Linked DNA regions of Homo sapiens: regions 1, 2, 4, 5 and 6 are each linked to region 3. Evidence: promoter capture Hi-C in 16 types of primary human blood cells and fetal thymus (Javierre and others, 2016). All regions are on one chromosome and are shown on one strand. Each heading gives the region's core, a stretch centred on a gene start or on the middle of the fragment in contact. The rest is flanking DNA. Distances are from core to core; before and after follow the strand shown.

Region 1 (2,700 bases), core at 148-2,647, 330 kb after region 3:
AATGCCCTGAGCTGGGGCCAGTGCAGCCCCCACCAATGGGGAATGGACAGGCTGGGGGAGGAATGGTCAGAAAGAGCGACCCAGCTCAGGTGGCCCCCACCTGGCCTTCGTGTGACCCATTTCTGCAGCCTCCTCTGCCAACTCATTGCTTCCCTGGCCTCAGGATGGGACTGCCAACCACATGGCCAGGGACGAAGGCCAGGAGAGAAGCAGACGCTCTGGGGCTGTCAGCCCCCTCCCTGGCCAGCACGCCACAGCATTCGAGGGCTGTAGGCCTCTTGGTGTGTACACGTCCCACTCAACATGGTGACCACAGCACAGCAGAAATACCTCAGAAGGTGGGACGGCAGAAGTTCCTGTCACCCAAGGTCCACCCTGGCATGGTTGGTGAGAACTGCACTCTTTTGGGGCAGAAGTGGTTCTCGGTGGCTGGGGTTCTGTGGGTCCCTCGAGGAGTTCAAGGGACTGTGAGAATTGTCCAGACTTGGCTGAAGATTCCCGAAAGCCTTCAAACTCCCCCCAAGTGCTGCTGTGTTCCCCAGGGTCAGGACATCGGGCAGTGCAGGTGGAACCGCCCTCACGGGGCATGGAGATGCTGGCTTTCCCATCGGACAGGAGAAGGTCGGGGCAGGTCCGTCTCCATTCCAAACTGTCATCACTCAGCCTCTCAGGTGCCACTCGGAGGGAAGCGCTGGCTGCTTCCTCCTGGAGGTCACTCAAAGGCTCTCCCCCCAGCTCCCGCCGGCCTTGCATCTTGGAGCCCCCAGGCCAGCAGAGGCCCGATGGGCAGCTGCTCAGGAGACATGCACGCCGGGGTGCTGGCCGCCCAGGACTGCCCAACCTTCCCCTGCCCTGGAGAGGGCCAGGGGACGCTGCAGGAGTGCCCCGGGCTGCCCAGTGGCTGACGGTGGAAAGTGCCCACGTGCTGCTGTGGAACTGACACAAACCACAGGAATGGCCCGGTCGCCCGGGAGTCCTGGCTTCCTCCCACGCAGGCGGGCGCGGAGTCCGACACAGAGGCGCGTACCAGACCCACGGCAGGTGTGAGAGGGGCGGCCCAAGGTGGGGCTCCTGCTCTGGAGAGAGCCGCGAGGGGGCCTGGGAGGCCCACGCTGGCCAGAGGAGCGAGAGCCGGGCGCCCGCGGGAGTCCCAAGTGGGAAGGAGTGGGTGCGGCGCCCCGGGGCCTCCCGAGAGTCCCTCTCGCACGCGGCCCGCAGAGCAGCCCTGGAACGCCTGGGCCTGGACAGGGCCCGAGGTGGCCGGCTAAGCGCCTGGCCCACGGCTCCCGAGAGTCCCCGCACCCACCTTGGTCGCCGCCTCGGCGGGGCCGCGCGGGACCAGGGCGAGAGAAACCTGCAACCAGCCGTTCCCTCCTGCCTGCGCCGCCCCGTTGCCTGGCAACGGCGTGCGCCAGCTCCGCTTCCGGCGTCCGTCGCCGTGGCGTCAGCACGCATCCGGGGCGAGGCCAGCGCCGGCCCCCGCCGTTCAGGACCCGCCCCGGACCCGCCCTCCCTGCCCCGGGCCGCCTCCGCTGCGGGTGGGATCGGGCTTCCACACTGGCCGAGCCCTGGGCGCCGGGCCGCTCGAGCTTTCTGTCCGTGCTCAGTTCGCCGCCCGAGTGGTTCTTTCTTTTTTTTTTTTTTCTTTTTTTTTTGAGACGGAGTCTCGCTCTGTCGCCCAGGCTGGAGAGCAGTGGCGCGATCTCGACTCACTGCAAGCTCCGCCTCCCGGGTTCACGCCATTCTCCTGCCTCAGCCTCCCGAGTAGCTGGGACTACAGGCGCCCGCCACCACGCCCGGCTGATTTTTTTGTATTTTAATAGAGACTGGGTTTCACCGTGTTAGCCAGGATGGTCTCGATTTCCTGACCTCGTGATCCGCCCGCCTCGGCCTCCCAAAGTGCTGGGATTACAGGCTTGAGCCACTGGGCCTGGCCCTAGAGTGGTTCTTTCTTCCTCACGACGAGCTCCCCAGGTCCGTCCCAGCGCACCCGTCACCCGCAGCCCCTTCTCCCGGCGCCCCGCAGCCTAACTTGCCGCGCCGCCGACCCCTCTGTGGGTGCAGCTGAGCGACGGCCCCTCAGGACCCCACCTGTCCCTGGCGAGAGCCAAGTCCGTCTTGCTGACTCCTGAATCCCAAAACCTCGCCCGCCCCTAACTCGTCCCCATTCCTGGGGGAAGGAGCTGCGGGGAGGCTCCACCCCTCCCTCGCAGGCCGCATGGAGTGCTCCCCTCCTTTGTCACCAGCCAGACCCGGGCAGAGCAGGGCTGACGGACAGCCCCTCTCCAGCCACTGGACGACCAAGGAGCTAGGCTGGCCTCTGGCAGCTCCCCTCCGGGCTTCCAGGCCTTCTGCCATCTGCCCTCACCCCCAGACTCAAGGAGTCAACCTTGACTCCATCTCCTCCCTGGCCTTCCCAGACTGGCCCCCATCACTGCCTCCTCTGGGTAAGGGGAGGGCCTGGCCCTGGTGAAGCCCTGAACCATGCCACCTACTGTCCACCCCCTATCTACCTCAGGCTCGCATTTCTCCCACCCTGGGGCCTGGGGCCCTGCCTGGACTCTGTCCTTGCTTGAATCACCCCTTCCCTCCCTGGTCCTTCTCAGCCAAGCTACAGAACAATTTAATTTTACAAATGACAAGATGAGATCATTCTCTGCACCTTAGACCCAGCCTCCTGTCCCCGCTCCTTCCTGAGGG
Region 2 (2,700 bases), core at 192-2,691, 490 kb after region 3:
TGCACTCCAGCCTGGGCGACAGAGCAAGACTCAAAAAAAAAAAAAGATGAATTTTATGGTATGTGAATTATATCTCAATCTTAAAAGTTTTTAAAAAGAGAATGAAAGAAGAGGAATTAGAGGCATGGCATGTAGACAGCATTCTGTGGGCGTCTTGCAGTAAAGATCTATGCCTTTCTTTTCTTTTCTTTTCTTTTTTTTTAATTGAGACAAGGTCTTGCTGTGTCACCCAGGCTAGAGTGCAGTGATATCATCATGGCCCGGACTCCCAGGCCCAACCCAAGGGATCCTCCCACTGTAGCCTCCCCAGTGGCTGGGACTACAGGCCCATGCCACCATGCCTGGCTGATTTTCCCTTAATTTTTTTGTTGTTGTTTTTAAAGAAATGAGGTGTCACTATGTTGCCCAGGCTGGTCTCCATCTCAAATAAATAAATAAAATACCACAGACTGAGTAATTTATAAATACTAAAAATGTATTCCTCACAGTTTTAGGGGCGGGGAAGTCCTAGGTCAAGGCCAGCAGATGTGGTGTCTGGGAGGGATTACACCCTCTTGCTGTGCCCTCACATAGAGGAAGGGGCCAAAAGGCCTAAAGAAAAGAACCCGCTGCCTCAAGCCCTTGTGTAAGAGCACTAATCCCGTCCGCCCTGCCCTGGTCACCTCCCAAAGGCCCTACCTCTTAATACCATCACTTTGCAACTTAAGTTCCAATATATGAATTTTGGATGGACACAAACATTCAAACCATAGCACACACAAAATAAGCTTAAATATTTTATTTTTTGAGACAGGGTCTTGTTTTGTCACCCAGGCTGGAGTGCAGTGGCCCCATCTCAGCTCACTGCAACCTCTGCCTCCTGGGCTCAAGCAATCCACTCACCATGGCCTCCCAAAGTGCTGGGACTACAGGCGTGAGCCACTGCACCTGGTCTTTTAAAATTTTTTTTTTTTTTTTGAGATGGAGTCTCCCTCTGTCGCCCAGGCTGGAGTGCAGTGGCGCGATCTCAGCTCACTGCAAGCTCTGCCTCCCAGGGTCATGCCATTCTCCTGCCTCAGCCTCCCGAGTAGCTGGGACCACAGGCACCCGCTACCACGCCTGGCTAATTTTTTGAATTTTTAGTAGAGACGGGGTTTCACGTGTTAGCCAGGATGGTCACAATCTCCTGACCTCGTGATCCGCCTGCCTTGGCCTCCCAAAGTGCTGGGATTACAGGCGTGAGGCTGAGGCAGGAGAAAGGTGTGAACCCGGGAGACGGAGCCTGCAGTGAGCCAAGATCGTGTCACTGCACTCCAGCCTGGGCGACACAGCGAGACTCTGTCTCAAAAAAAAAAAAAAAAAGAGTGACCACTGGTCGTCCTCACTGCTACACTCCCACCAGCACCATGAGAGTTTACAAATGCCATGGCAACATCAGGAAGTTACCCCTTATGGTCTAAAAAGGAGAGTCATGAATAATACACCCTTTGTTTATCATATAATAAAAATAAAACCATAAAAATGGTCACCCAGCAGCCCTCTGGCCCGCTCTATGGAGTGGCCATTCTTTTATTCCTCTAATTTCTTAATAAATTTGCTTTCGCTTTACTTTGTGGACTCGCCCTGAATTCTTTCTTGCGTGAGATCTAAGAACCCTCTCTTGGGATCTGGATCAGGACCCCTTTCTGGTAACCCCATGAACCACAGACTCACTCTCAGCCCTGGATCCCCATGCCTCTGCCACTGAGGCCTGAGGGACCACCTCTCCCGCCCCTGCCCTGAGCACTCTGGTGTCTCCGGCCAGCCCTTTCTCTCCAAGCCAGGCTCCTCCCACCCTCCCTGCCTTCTCCAGCCGTGTACCAGACACGAACCTGTGGAAGGAGAGCCCGCAGCTCCTGGGGCACCTGCATTCAGCCCAGCCCCTCCTCCCTGCCCCGTCCCTGGCCTCCCCCAGCCCCTGGCGGCTTCTTCTCTGCGGCCTCCTCCTAGTGGCTGGCTGAGCAAAGGACAGGAGGTACTTAGCCTTATCATCTGCCCTGCCCCTCCAGGACTGCAGGCGCCAAGCCCCCTGCACGCCCCTACTTCCCCGATGGGACCTCCCTGCTCCCAGCCAGTCAGCCTCCCAGGGAAGCTTAAGGCTGCTGCCTGGCTCCAGGGCGACGGCTGTTGGTGCTGGGGCCCAAGACGCAGGAGAGATTCAGACAGCACTTGGGGCCACACAAGACAGTGCCTGGGACGTGTGAAGCACCGCCCTCCCCTGGACGTGAGTCCACCCCAGGGCTTCAACGCCAGCCTGTGCCCACCTCACGCAGGCCTTTCTCCGCGGCTCAGGTGCTTCCTCCCCCCCACCGAAGCGCTGGTGCTAAGGTCACCGCCCTGCCCCACCGTCACTGTTCACTGATACCAGTCCTGGGCGCCCTCCTCGCAGCCCCTGCCCCACTCCACACCGGATCGACCACCAAGGCCTCTGCCTCCTACGCATCCCCAACGCCTTTTCCTTCCTTCCCGCGGACCTGCGGGGCGGGGGCGGGCCTGGCGTTTTTGAGCTGGACCCGAGCAGCCTCCCGGTGACTCCCCTGCTGTTGCCACCTCCTCATTCTCCACTCAAGAGACAAAGCGACCTCCCCGAATGCAAACCCGACCAGCCGCACTCCTTAAAATCCTTCGACGCTTCCCATTTCTCCCAGGGAAAAACTCCCCCACTCCTCCCCACCTGTGTCC
Region 3 (2,700 bases), core at 19-2,518:
CTAGGGGTGGAACAACTCAATGCCACGTGGGGTCCCCTCCAGGCATACTGGCCACTTCCAGTGCCTGGAAGGTCCGCTCACCCTCCCATCTCCCCAGGGAGAACTCTCACTACCCCCAACCGCCTCCTCTTCTCGCCTGCTGTCTATTCTAGAACCAGAACTTTTCCGGAGAGCGTGTCTCTCTCCTCCTTAGCCTGGGAGCTTCCTGAGCAGGAACTACCAAGTCACGAAGAAATTACAAAAGTTTCAAACTGAGCAGGAGACTCAGGGAAGCTGCAAGTCCAAGGAAGGCTGGGCTATGGCCGGAGGGTAAACCCTGTCCAATCGTTACCGCTGGGCGACCGGGCGCCCCCCTACCAAGTGCAGAACAGCCAGTCTTCCGCAATGGCAAGATCAACTGGGAGGCGCAAATAGCAGTACTGGCTTGGCGACGCCTCTAAATGAGAGACAGCGCCAACCAGGTACCCGCGAGGACGACCCCGCCCCGCAGGACAGGGCATCTCCACCGCGCGCTGGACGGAGGATACAACCGAGTCCTGCGCGCCCCGTGCGCCGGGGGTCGCTCCCAGGCCGAGGTCTGACAGTGTCGCCGAACGCGAAAGGAAGCGTGTGGTACCCGAGAGAGGAAGCACCCTCGTCACCCCGGCCGGCACCGCATTGAGGCAGGTGTGCAGGTGCGGTTGCGGCGAGCCAGGTGAGCGCCGCCCGGGAGCCCCAAGGTCCCGCCGGGTCTGAGCAGCACCGGGTCCTCGGAAGCTGAGCGCGGCCCCCGGTGCTCGGGACCTGGGGGGCTGGGGCCGCGCTTGCCGGAGCTGCGGGGGGGCGGCGGCTGCACGCGTCGAACCGGCGGGCGGGGGCGCGGGGGGCGACCTGGGCTCCGCTGGGGGACCCGGGCCGGGGATGGGGCGCGCAGAGGCCGCGGCCAGGACACCCCCAGCAGGTGCCCGGCGGGAACAAAGCGCGGCGGGCGGCGCGTACCTGGGCACGCAGCTGGGGCTGGAGCCGTCCACCTCCCAGGTGGCGAACAGGTTCATGGGCACGGGCGTGTTGAGCGCGCCGGGCGCGCCGGGGAGGCCGAGGCGGCCTCGCTCGGCCATGGCGCCGGCCCCGCCGCTCCCTCGGCGGCCTGGGGCTGCGGCCGGGCCGCGGACGCGCGGCGGGCGGGCCGGGCGCGCGGAGGGCGGCGGCGCGGTCACATGGCTGCCGGGCGGCGGAGGGGACGGGCCGGGCCCCGGCGTCGGACAGGCCCGCGGGCGGCGACGAGCTGCGGCCGCTCCGCCCCGCCCCGCCCGGCGCCCCGCCCGCGCCCCGCGCGCCCCCGGCCGCCCCGCGCGCGCCCGGCGCCCTCCGACCCGCGCCGGCGCCGCCGATTGGCTGGGCGGGGCGCCAGCTCGCCGCCTCGGGTCCAATCGCCGCCGGCGCAGCGCGCGCCGGAAGTGAGGTGCGCGCGCGCTTCCTCCGGCGGCGCCTCACGGGGCGTCCCCGCCCGCCGGTGCGCGAGAGCGCGCACTCACGCGCCTGCGCACAGACCCCGCCCGGGGCGCCCCGCCCCGCCCCCCGGGAGCCGCGGGCAAGGGCCGGGAGAGTCGTGGGGGTCCACCGGGTCCCGGCCAGCTTCAGGCGCCGCCCCCTAAGGAAAGCTCATCGTCGCCCTGGCGATGCCCACCTCCCCACGCGCGGATTCCCCGGCCTCGACACTTTCCCGCCTCCACCCCGCCATGCCCCGAGTCTCCCCGCCCCCCTGCCCTCGCCGCCCCTTGTCTCCTGCCGACCCCCGCTGGGTTGGCCCGGCTGTGCGGGCCCCGCCCGTCCCCGAGCCCCTCCCTCGCGCCCCCCTGCGTGGGTTCCCCGGGACGCAGGGAGGTGGCAAGGAGGTGGCCGGGCCTGGCGGCGGTCGCGGGGACTCGAAGCCACTCGGGGCGCCAGGCTGCCGAGCTTAGCCTCCAGGGCTCCAGATGACCCCGGGCGCCCTCTTTGCGTCCCAGCATCCTTATTCAGCGCCGCTTTTCAGCGTTGTGCTCAGGACAATGGAGAACAAATGTCTGGGGCCAAGGCTGGCTCCTGGCCCTGGGGTTAACAGTGAACTTGGGGACCCAAGCAAAGAGGAGGCAATGGCTAGAGCCGCTGGGGCCCGACGTGTAGGCTCTGGGGCTCAGGGAGGGTGCTTCCCCCATCTGTTTGGCAGCGGCTGTGGTCCAGCACCAGATGCCAAGCCGAGATTTAGGAAACGGTTTTCTGGCCTCTCTTCTGTTTCCTTGTTTCACAGTTAGTTTACAGTTGCTTTTCTCTTCGCCCTGTGTCTTGTCTACAAGTAGTTTTACTGAAACAAATCCAGCCCGAGCAAATTGACCTGGAGCTGGTTTCTTTCCTGGCCCACGGGGCTTGCCACCCCAGTGCCCCGTCAGCTCCTTCTGCAAAGGCCCTCATGCCGCTGCTTCCTCCGTTGAGAGAGCTCAGCCTCCAGCTGTAACTCCTGTATCTAGAACTGCAAACAGCTGCGACTGCTTAAAGTCAGGGTCCCACTTCGGAGAGAACAAGGGACTCTGTGTTTCCCACGCGCCCCTGGCTCCTCTAAGGTGGTACACTGAGAGCCATGAGGGTCTGTCTGACCTTGGCCAGCTGCTCGGCGGGCAGAGGGCCGGTGGATCTCATACCTTTGAGACAGGGTAGGGGGAGAAGTGACTATGTCCAGAGAGGGGG
Region 4 (2,700 bases), core at 102-2,601, 380 kb after region 3:
AGGGGAAGTGGGAAGGGAAATTTGGTGGACACTCATCCCAGTTAAGCAAGGCCATCACCCTCTCCCTTCCCAGGGCTTCCTGCCTTCTCTACTCCAACTTGTGTGTGCCAGACAAGCTAGGTGAGTGCAGCCCAGGGGGAGGAGTCTGCTTGGCTCCATGGGGCTTTTGTCCCTCTCTGATCCAAGAGTCAAGGCCTGGGATAGTGGGGACCTTGGTGCTAGAGGCCAGAGAGACAGCTGTCCCAGCATGTGAGGAGTGGCTGAGCAGCAGGGGCCCCCACAGGGTTCTCGCGTGGCCTTGGTTCTCTGTGTATGAGTTATCTATGCTGCATAAGAACATCACTACAAATTAGCAACTTAAAACAACACACATTTATGATCTCCCAGTTTCTGTGGATCAGGAGCCCAAGTGTGGCTTTGTTGGGTTCTCTGCTCAAGGTCCCATTAGGCTACAATCAAGATGTCAGCTGGGGCTGTGGTCTCCCCTTCAGGTATGACCAGGAAAGCAGCCACTTCTGAAGCTCACGTTGTTGCTAGCCACACTCAACTCCTTGTGGATGGGATGATTGAGGGCCCCAGTTTCTTGCTAGTTGGGGGCTGGAGGCAACCCCAGTACCCTGCTACATGGGCCTCTTCATAGGACAGCTCATAGCCTAGCAGCTCACTTTTTAAAGCTAGCAAGGGATAGACTGCTATTCCTTGATAATGTTATAATCTTATGTCACATGATCACAAGGTGTCACAGGAGTGACATCCCCTTACCTCTGTATTCTATTGGTTACAACAAGGCACAGGTCCTGCACACACTCAAGGTGAGATCACACAAGGGCATGCATACCAGCAGGTGGGGGTCAAGGGAGCCATTCTAGAGTCTGTCTGCTATAGCCCAGAAGGGGCCACATTGTGGCACCCTCCTGGGGTCTCCCAAGCCTTGTCAAGCTGGATTTCCTTTGGAATAGGCATCTGCCTTGAAGCAGGCCTCTGTCAGTGCCACTGAGGTGTGACTGCCAGTCCCCAGGTGTGTGGAAAGAGGCCTTTCACTGGCTGAGGGCCACCAGCCAGTTGTCCAAATCACAGCCTGGAGCACAGAGCCCTCCTAGAACATAGTTGGCAGGCCAAGAGAGCAGGCCAAGTGCTCTGAGACACATTCAGGTATAAGGCCAAGAACCAGGGAGCAAACCCACACGTGCAACCCTGGAGGGCAGAGCTTAGTCTGGGATGATATCGGCTTCTGAGCCAGGTGTTGCCACGAAGCTTTTTGCCAGATGGTTACTGAGGAGATATGGAGCATGAATGAGGGATAGGAAGCCACAGGGAGCAGCCACTGCAACTGCCAGAGCTTGGCTTGGCCAAGTGCAGCTCACACACAAAGCAGCCCCCAGAAGCTCCTGAAGGCCTTGCAGGGCTATGTGGATCCCTATCCCCCTGCAGCATCTGCAGCAAGCTTTTCACAAGCTTGGGCAGGGAGGCAGGATGGGTGTAGGAGATTTCTGCACAGACAGAATGCTGAAGTCTAAGGTGTCCTTTAGATGGGGGAAGTATGAGGTCACTAATCGAACAGAAAAGTAACTTGTACTGTACCTGAGATGAACTTTGCTAGCTTTCCCCAAAGCAAAGAGGGAAGAGGAAGATATGGCTGAGTTCACAGTGTGGCAGGGACACAAATGTAGGAAAGAAAAAAGTAGAGAAGGGTAGGAAAAGGAGAGAAGTAGAGAAGGGTAGGAAAGTGGTGCCTCAAGACCGGGAGAGCATTCGGGGCACCCTGGGGTCCATTCAGCATCCAGTGCTCCTTCATACCGCTGAGCCATCCCTGAACTCCAGCCTAGCATGGCCCCATGGACCTCCACCAGGGGAGGGTACCCTGTGGTCTTGGTCAGGAACCATCAGGTGAGATAAGCCAGGGTGTTTTGAGAATCCTTCTGACCCAGCATTCATAGCAGAAGAGTGGGAACTGAGTTGCCAAACCTGGGTTCAAATCCTGCATCTGCAGGACAGGTGCCCAGGTGGCTCCCAGGATAGGGTGAGTTCCAGTGGAGCTGCATCCAAGTCCTGGTCTCAGACTGGAGTCACCTTCCTGCCCTCCAGCTCAAATGCTGGTCCTCTCAGCCCCATCCACCAACCCTGGGCACTGCATCCCCAGGACAAGCCTGCCCCCACATGCTTGGACCCACCCTGCACAACAGCCCACAAACCACACAGCCTTGTGCACCCCTACCCTCGCCCGCCTGTCTCCCCAGCCCGCACGCAGGACCTGTCCCCTCAGCCGCGGGTCCCCTCCCGCCCTCCCCGTCCCCTCAGCCCCGGGTCGCCTCCCGCCCTCCCCGTCCCCTCAGCCGCGGGTCCCCTCCCGCCCTCCCCGTCCCCTCAGCCGCGGGTCCCCTCCCACCCTCCCCTCACTCAGCCCCGGATCGCCTCACATCCTCCCCGTCCCCTCAGTCGCAGGTCCCCTCCCGCCCTCCCGGTCCCCTCAGCCCCGCTCCCCTCCCGCCCTCCCCTCACTCAGCCCCGGGTCGCCTCCCGCCCTCCCGGTCCCCTCAGCCGCGGGTCCCCTCCCGCCCTCCCTGTCCCCTCAGCCGCGGGTCCCCTCCCACCCTCCCCTCACTCAGCCGCGGGTCGCCTCCCGCCCTCCCGGTCCCCTCAGCCGCGGGTCCCCTCCCGCCCTTCCCTCACTCAGCCGCGGGTCGCCTCCCGCCCTCCCTG
Region 5 (2,700 bases), core at 194-2,693, 260 kb after region 3:
CTCACCCGGAGAAACCCAGCAAGCGCAGCGAGGCTGTGGGGAGACCGGAGCCCTGCACACCGCCGGGGGAAGGTGGGCCAGCGCCACCACCGTGGAGAACAGCGCGGAGGCACCCCACGAGATGAGACGGAACTGCCGTGAGATCCAGCAATGCCAACTGTGGGTCTGACCCAGGAGAACGGAAAGCAGGGACGTGAACAGCCCTCCTCATGTTCTTGACACCGTCATTCTCAGCAGCTCAGCTAAGGCACAGAGGCAGCCGAGCGTCTGTCAGCGGAGTCGTGGCTGAGCAGAACACGCCACACGCCACACGCCACACGCCACACGTGCAGGATTGCTCAAGATGGAAGGGCACAGTGGAATATATATATATATTTATATTTTTGGCGAGACCCTGGAGGACACACTGAATACAATGGAATACCATCCCGCCTTTGAAAGGAAGGGAAATCCTGGCACACGCTGCAACAGGAGGGAGCTTGAGGACACTGTGGTGAGTGGAGCACGTGAGACACGGAAGGACACACGCTGAAGACACGCAGAGATGCCCACCCACGTGGGGAGGTGACAGGGGAGCCCAGCGCACAGAGACAAAGTGGAATGGAGGCCTGGGGGCTGGGAGCAAATGCGGAGCGAGTGCTTCCTGGGGCAGAGTCTCCGTTTGGGAAGATGAGAAGGTTCTGCCGACGGATGCTGGCGATGGTTGCAGAAGAATGTGAATGTGCCCAATGCTACTGAAAAACGGTTACAATGGTAAATTCCTTGTTATGTGTATTTTGCCACAATTTTCCACTTTTTCAATTTTTTTTTCTTGCGATTGAGTCTCACTCTATCGCCCAGGCTGGAGTGCAGTGGCACAATCTCGGCTCACTGCAGCTTCTGCCTCCCAGGTTCAAGGGATTCTCCTGCATCAGCCTCCCAAGTAGCTGGGATTACAGGTGCCCACCACGCCTGGCTAATATTTGTATTTTTAATAGAGATGGGATTTCACCATGTTGGTCAGGCTGGTCTGGAACTCCAGACCTCGGGTGATCCACCTGCCTTGTCCTTCCAAAGCGTTGGGATTGAAGGAATGAACGGCCCATGGGGCCGAATTTTTTTTTTTTTTTTTTTTTTGAGATGGAGTCTTGCTCTGTTGCCCTGGCTGGAGTGCAGTGGCGCAATCTCTGCCTTCCGGGTTCACACCATTCTCCTGCCTCAGCCTCCCAAGTAGCTGGGACTGCAGGCACCTGCCACCACGCCTGTCTAATTTTTGTATTTTTAGTAGAGACGAGTTTTCACCAGGTTAGCCAGGCTGGTCTCGAACGCCTGACCTCTAGTGATCTCCCCACCCTGGCCTCCCAAAGTGCTGGGATTACAGGCGTGAGCCACTGCGCCCAGCTGAATTTTTTAAATGCACAAAAACAAGTGGCCTGGCATGGTGGCTCACACCTGTAATCCCAGCACTTTGGGAGGCCAAGGTGGGCAGATCACCCAAGGTCAGGAGTTCAAGACCAGCCTGGCCAACCTGGTGAAACCTTGTCTCTACTAAAACTACAAAAATTAGATGGGCGTGGTGGCGAGTGCCTGTAGTCCCAGCTACTCGGGAGGCTGAGGCAGGAGAATCACTTGAACTTGGGAGGCAGAGGTTGCAGTAGCAGAGATCACGCCACTGCACTCCAGCCTGGGCATCAACACAGTTTTTTGAGACTACGTCTCAAAAAAAAAAAAAAGAAAAAAAAAGAGCGACACAATGGGGCCGCAGGGCTGACCCCGTTCGGGGTGACTTGCCCCATCGTGCTGGAGGTCAACAGGCCCTCAAGTACAGGAGGGAGGTCAAGGAAACTACGACATTTGCATGTGGAAGGTTCCTGAGGCCAGCGGGCTGGACAGTGCCCAGGGACCCCTGACCTCGCGCCAGGGCACAGCTGAAGTTTGCCCCGCCCGGGGCTGCTGTGGCCCAATAAGTTTGGCAACGCTCTGTCCGTCCGTCAGGTGCTGAGGCCAGGTCTGTCTGCGGCTTCCTGCTGACCTGGAGGTGGGACTCCATGATCTGTAACCACAGAAGGCCCAGAAGCATGAACTCAGCCAGAGTGGGCAGCCAGGACACTGGAGCTGGTGGCGCTGGCAGAGCTTGGGGAAGTCACACCACTGCACACCCTGCGTGACCTCTAGCAACCCCCTGGCTGGAAAGGATGAGTTTCTGACCTCGGAGAGCTGTGTTTGAGGCAGGTTGCTGAGATCACTTTGATCTCCTTTTCTTTTGCCCTCTCCCACATTTAAGGACTTTTGTGATTCCATTGGGCCCACCAGATAGTCCAGAATAATCTCTTTATTTTACTGTCAGCTAGTTAGCAACCTTCATTCAACTTGCAACCTTAGTTCCCCTTTCCCGTGTAACCTGCCATATCTACATGTCCCAAGGATTAGGATTCAGACATCTTTTGGGTGGGGTCATTAGTCTCCTGCCACCGAGAGGAGGGGTATCACATGACATAGTAATAAGAGGATCAATTCACCAAGAAGACAGAACCATCTGTGACTCCTATGCCCCAATTCACAGTAGCTTCAAATACGTAAAGCAAGCACTGGGAGAATACAAGGAGAGGTGGACAAATCCACCACTCCCACAGGAGCTTATAATTATCTTTTTTAGTAATTGATAGTTCACACAGGCAAATATGTGGTAAGACTACAGATTAGCCGGGCGCAGTGGCTCAC
Region 6 (2,700 bases), core at 59-2,558, 300 kb after region 3:
TGCTAGTGCTGCCCTTAGGACCGCTGACAGCACCAGGCCAAGCACTGAATTCATCCTCTTAAGATCCCCAGTGGGAGGCTTCTAGTATCCATATCTGGCTTTCAGAAAAGGGCGGGAGGGTCTGTCGTTGGGTTTGGACTCAGGACCTGGCATTTCTAAGGACTCAGAGGAAAGGAAAGTGGGACCCAGAGGGTCCTAGGAGCTTGGGACAGCTTCTTGAACTGGTTCCCAGTGTGGTTGTGGGTCTTCTTGGCCTGTCCCATTGGTATTCTTGTTCCTTCTGTGAGTTGCCCTGATTGCCCTGCTCAGTCGTGCTGACCTCCTGTAGGCCCCACATTATGGGGGTTGTGCTGCTGGGTTTCCAGAGTCAGGGGAGGCAGCCAGGGGTTCTTCTGTCTATAAACTTGGGCTTAATGCATGCTGTTCAAGAGGATTTGGTTTGGGTCCTAAATTAATCCATTGCTATGCAGGCTTGGGATTGAGATAGGTTGAAAGAGAAACTAAAAACCTAAAAGGTATATTGACTTCCCACAGAGGAACCCGTGGGACTTAATCTTTTCCCCAACGCAGGGTGTCCTTTGTAGTTTGACATAGCCTTATGTTAATTCTCGATATACTTAGCAATTTTAAGCCAGTGATTTAAACAATGGATTGGGATGGAAAAGCTCTGAAAAGTTAAATTTGTGGCTGACACAAAGAACTCGAATATTTACCAAAAGTAATAGAAATGTGTAAATGTGTTTTGGTGGTAAACTGTCCTTCATTTAGAATTAGTTGAGAAGCTGGTGTATGCAGGTGTGAGAGGCGGTGCCCAGCCTGAGGGCTGTGCCTGTGGTGACACTGGCATGCTGCTCTGGGGAAATGGGTGCTGTAGGGGAAATAAGCTAGGGTTAGGGAAGTTTTCCTTTAATTTTAATTTTGAAATAATTGTAGAGCCAGGGGAGGTTGCAGAGCAGTGTTCAGGAGGTCCTATGTGCCCTTCCTCTGCTCCCCAGGGCCGGCATCCTTGTAGGATGCACAGCCAGGCCCCAGGTCCGTGTGATGACACGGCTGCCGCAGGCGCATGTGTGCGTGTCCGGCGCTGTGCAGTCAGGGTAGGGCCACCCCCACAGCCCAGGAGCAGAAGGGCCCTCACCCCCAAGATCTCCCTGCGCAGGTTCCTTTCTAGCCCTGCCACCCCTCAGCTCTGGGTCAGCATGACAATGTGGCATAAATGGGATCCCATAGCAAGCACCCTTCTGAGGTTGGCTTTTCTCCCTCAGCCTAATGCCCCTGTGGAAGGATCCGTCCTGTGTATCAACAGTTCATTTCTTTCTATTGCAGAGTAGGATTTGGTGGCATGAATGGAGCAGAGTGTGTGTCACCGTGCCCAGGTGAAGGGTACATTTTCCTTGTTTCAGATTTGGAGCTACTACAAATAAAGCTGCTGTGCACATTCTGGAACATGTTTTTTGCATGAACATTGGCTTTTTCTCTGGGATAAATGCCCAAGAGGTCACTTAGTTTTTTAAAATTTACATGTGTTAAAGGCACGGGGATGAGATCTGTGACACTGAAGGGAAATTCAGAGAACAGGGGGACCCTTTCTTCTGTTAATTCAAGGGTAGGACCAGCAGGTGGGAGCCTCCAGAGGGGCTCCTGGGAAGGGGTATGTTTGGCAGCCAGTTCTCCCGCACTGCAAAACTTCCCATCCTTGGTCTCCAGACCCCGAGCAGAGACAGCATGTGCCTCCCATACGCCAGCTTTCCAAGAGCACCTGGGTATACCCTGGTCACAGGGAGCCATCAGATTGACTAAGAGAAAAAGAAGTTCCAAAGTTTGCATATTCAAAAGATTGTAACCCTATTTATGCATAACTTGAATTATTTGAAATAATATTTCACTACATTACAAGCATGAGAAGAGAGAAACTTAATCATGCGTGAGATGCTTGTCCTGTCAGACTCTGCCGGCCAGTATGGCCCTGAGCCAGCTGTCATCCTCCCAGCTCCCCGCAGGCGGCACTGGCTCAGAATGGCATCTGTCAAAAGCCAGAGCCCACCCTCCTGTCTGCTCTGCCTTTAGTGCCCCAGAGATGTCCCAATTTAGAATCAGTTAAAAAAAAAAAAAAACAGTTTGCACAGACTTGTACTTCTGAGAGTAGACATGGCCAATGTCCATCTAGTGCATCTGTGCTGTGCGTCTTAGTGGAACCTGCCCAGCAAGGCTGAGCCTTAGGTGCCATCCCGGAGTTGCCCAGGTCTGGGGTAAGATCCAGGAATCTGCATCTTCAACCAACAGCGCCAGTGCTGAGGCATACGCCGAGAAACACTGCCTTGGCCAGCTCTGGGCTGCCACAACACACTGGTGAGGAACCCACCCCCCCTGCCCCGGACACACACATACCCTGCCATGTTTTGGTTCCTTTGAAGAGAAAGGAGTTGAGATGAGAGGGGAGGTGGCCCCTGAGGCCATGGTTGTACGGGCTGGTCAGAGCTCTCGAGTGGAGGGCATTGACCTGAGAGATGTCAAGTAGAAAGCAGCCAGGCAGAGCCTGTGCACCTTGGGAGAAATGAACTGGTGGGGCGGGTGGGGGGAGCCAAGGAATGGGTGTGATCCCTAAGGCAGGCAGCATGGGCGGGTGTGGGAGCAAGGGACTGTCCAGGGCCACATAGGCTCGGCCAGGAGACCCTGTGTCCCTTGGAGAATTGTGCACGAAAC

Evidence for each region. The method cuts DNA at HindIII sites, captures the fragments that hold promoters and counts their contacts. A CHiCAGO score of 5 or more calls a contact.
Region 1: a contact is called between the fragment with the promoter of CLBA1 here and the fragment with the promoter of PACS2 in region 3, in 2 of 17 cell types (neutrophils and naive B cells). The highest score is 6.2, in neutrophils.
Region 2: a contact is called between a fragment that was not itself captured here and the fragment with the promoter of PACS2 in region 3, in 1 of 17 cell types (non-activated CD4 T cells). The highest score is 6.4, in non-activated CD4 T cells.
Region 4: a contact is called between a fragment that was not itself captured here and the fragment with the promoter of PACS2 in region 3, in 7 of 17 cell types (total CD8 T cells, naive CD4 T cells, non-activated CD4 T cells and 4 more). The highest score is 7.3, in total CD8 T cells.
Region 5: a fragment that was not itself captured here is called in contact with the fragment with the promoter of PACS2 in region 3 in 10 of 17 cell types (naive CD8 T cells, non-activated CD4 T cells, total CD8 T cells and 7 more); the score reaches 10.7 in naive CD8 T cells.
Region 6: a fragment that was not itself captured here is called in contact with the fragment with the promoter of PACS2 in region 3 in 5 of 17 cell types (neutrophils, non-activated CD4 T cells, naive CD4 T cells and 2 more); the score reaches 7.9 in neutrophils.

The regions. Positions count from the first base shown.
Region 1 is chr14:104,984,485-104,987,184 of GRCh38, reverse strand. It overlaps CLBA1 (clathrin binding box of aftiphilin containing 1), which reads right to left and starts at 1,397. Exons shown (of 5, transcript NM_174891.4): 1 at 331-1,397. The coding sequence starts at 753. RefSeq lists a silencer at 1,139-1,608. The HindIII fragment of the contact is 10,527 bases long and covers 1-2,700 here.
Region 2 is chr14:104,827,058-104,829,757 of GRCh38, reverse strand. No RefSeq gene overlaps it. Among named protein-coding and RNA genes, the nearest start is that of VESTAR, 7.2 kb to the right of the region's middle. RefSeq lists enhancers at 1,321-2,106, 2,107-2,700. The HindIII fragment of the contact is 1,343 bases long and covers 770-2,112 here.
Region 3 is chr14:105,313,316-105,316,015 of GRCh38, reverse strand. It overlaps PACS2 (phosphofurin acidic cluster sorting protein 2), which reads right to left and starts at 1,268. Exons shown (of 25, transcript NM_001100913.3): 1 at 979-1,268. The coding sequence starts at 1,097. It also overlaps a transcript of BRF1 not described here. RefSeq lists silencers at 647-726, 957-1,046, 1,187-1,716, 1,817-1,906 and an enhancer at 251-902. The HindIII fragment of the contact is 4,816 bases long and covers 1-2,700 here.
Region 4 is chr14:104,933,672-104,936,371 of GRCh38, reverse strand. It overlaps a transcript of PLD4 not described here. Among named protein-coding and RNA genes, the nearest start is that of PLD4, 10 kb to the right of the region's middle. The HindIII fragment of the contact is 190 bases long and covers 1,257-1,446 here.
Region 5 is chr14:105,053,440-105,056,139 of GRCh38, reverse strand. It overlaps GPR132 (G protein-coupled receptor 132), which reads left to right. Exons shown (of 4, transcript NM_013345.4): 3 at 1-753. The coding sequence starts at 720. LOC124903398 (a long non-coding RNA gene) reads right to left here. Exons shown (of 2, transcript XR_007064368.1): 2 at 363-731. Among named protein-coding and RNA genes, the nearest start is that of GPR132, 11 kb to the left of the region's middle. RefSeq lists an enhancer at 1-530. The HindIII fragment of the contact is 5,027 bases long and covers 1-2,700 here.
Region 6 is chr14:105,012,612-105,015,311 of GRCh38, reverse strand. The region is part of intron 1 of CDCA4 (cell division cycle associated 4); the gene reads left to right. Among named protein-coding and RNA genes, the nearest start is that of CDCA4, 7.1 kb to the left of the region's middle. The HindIII fragment of the contact is 5,093 bases long and covers 1-2,700 here.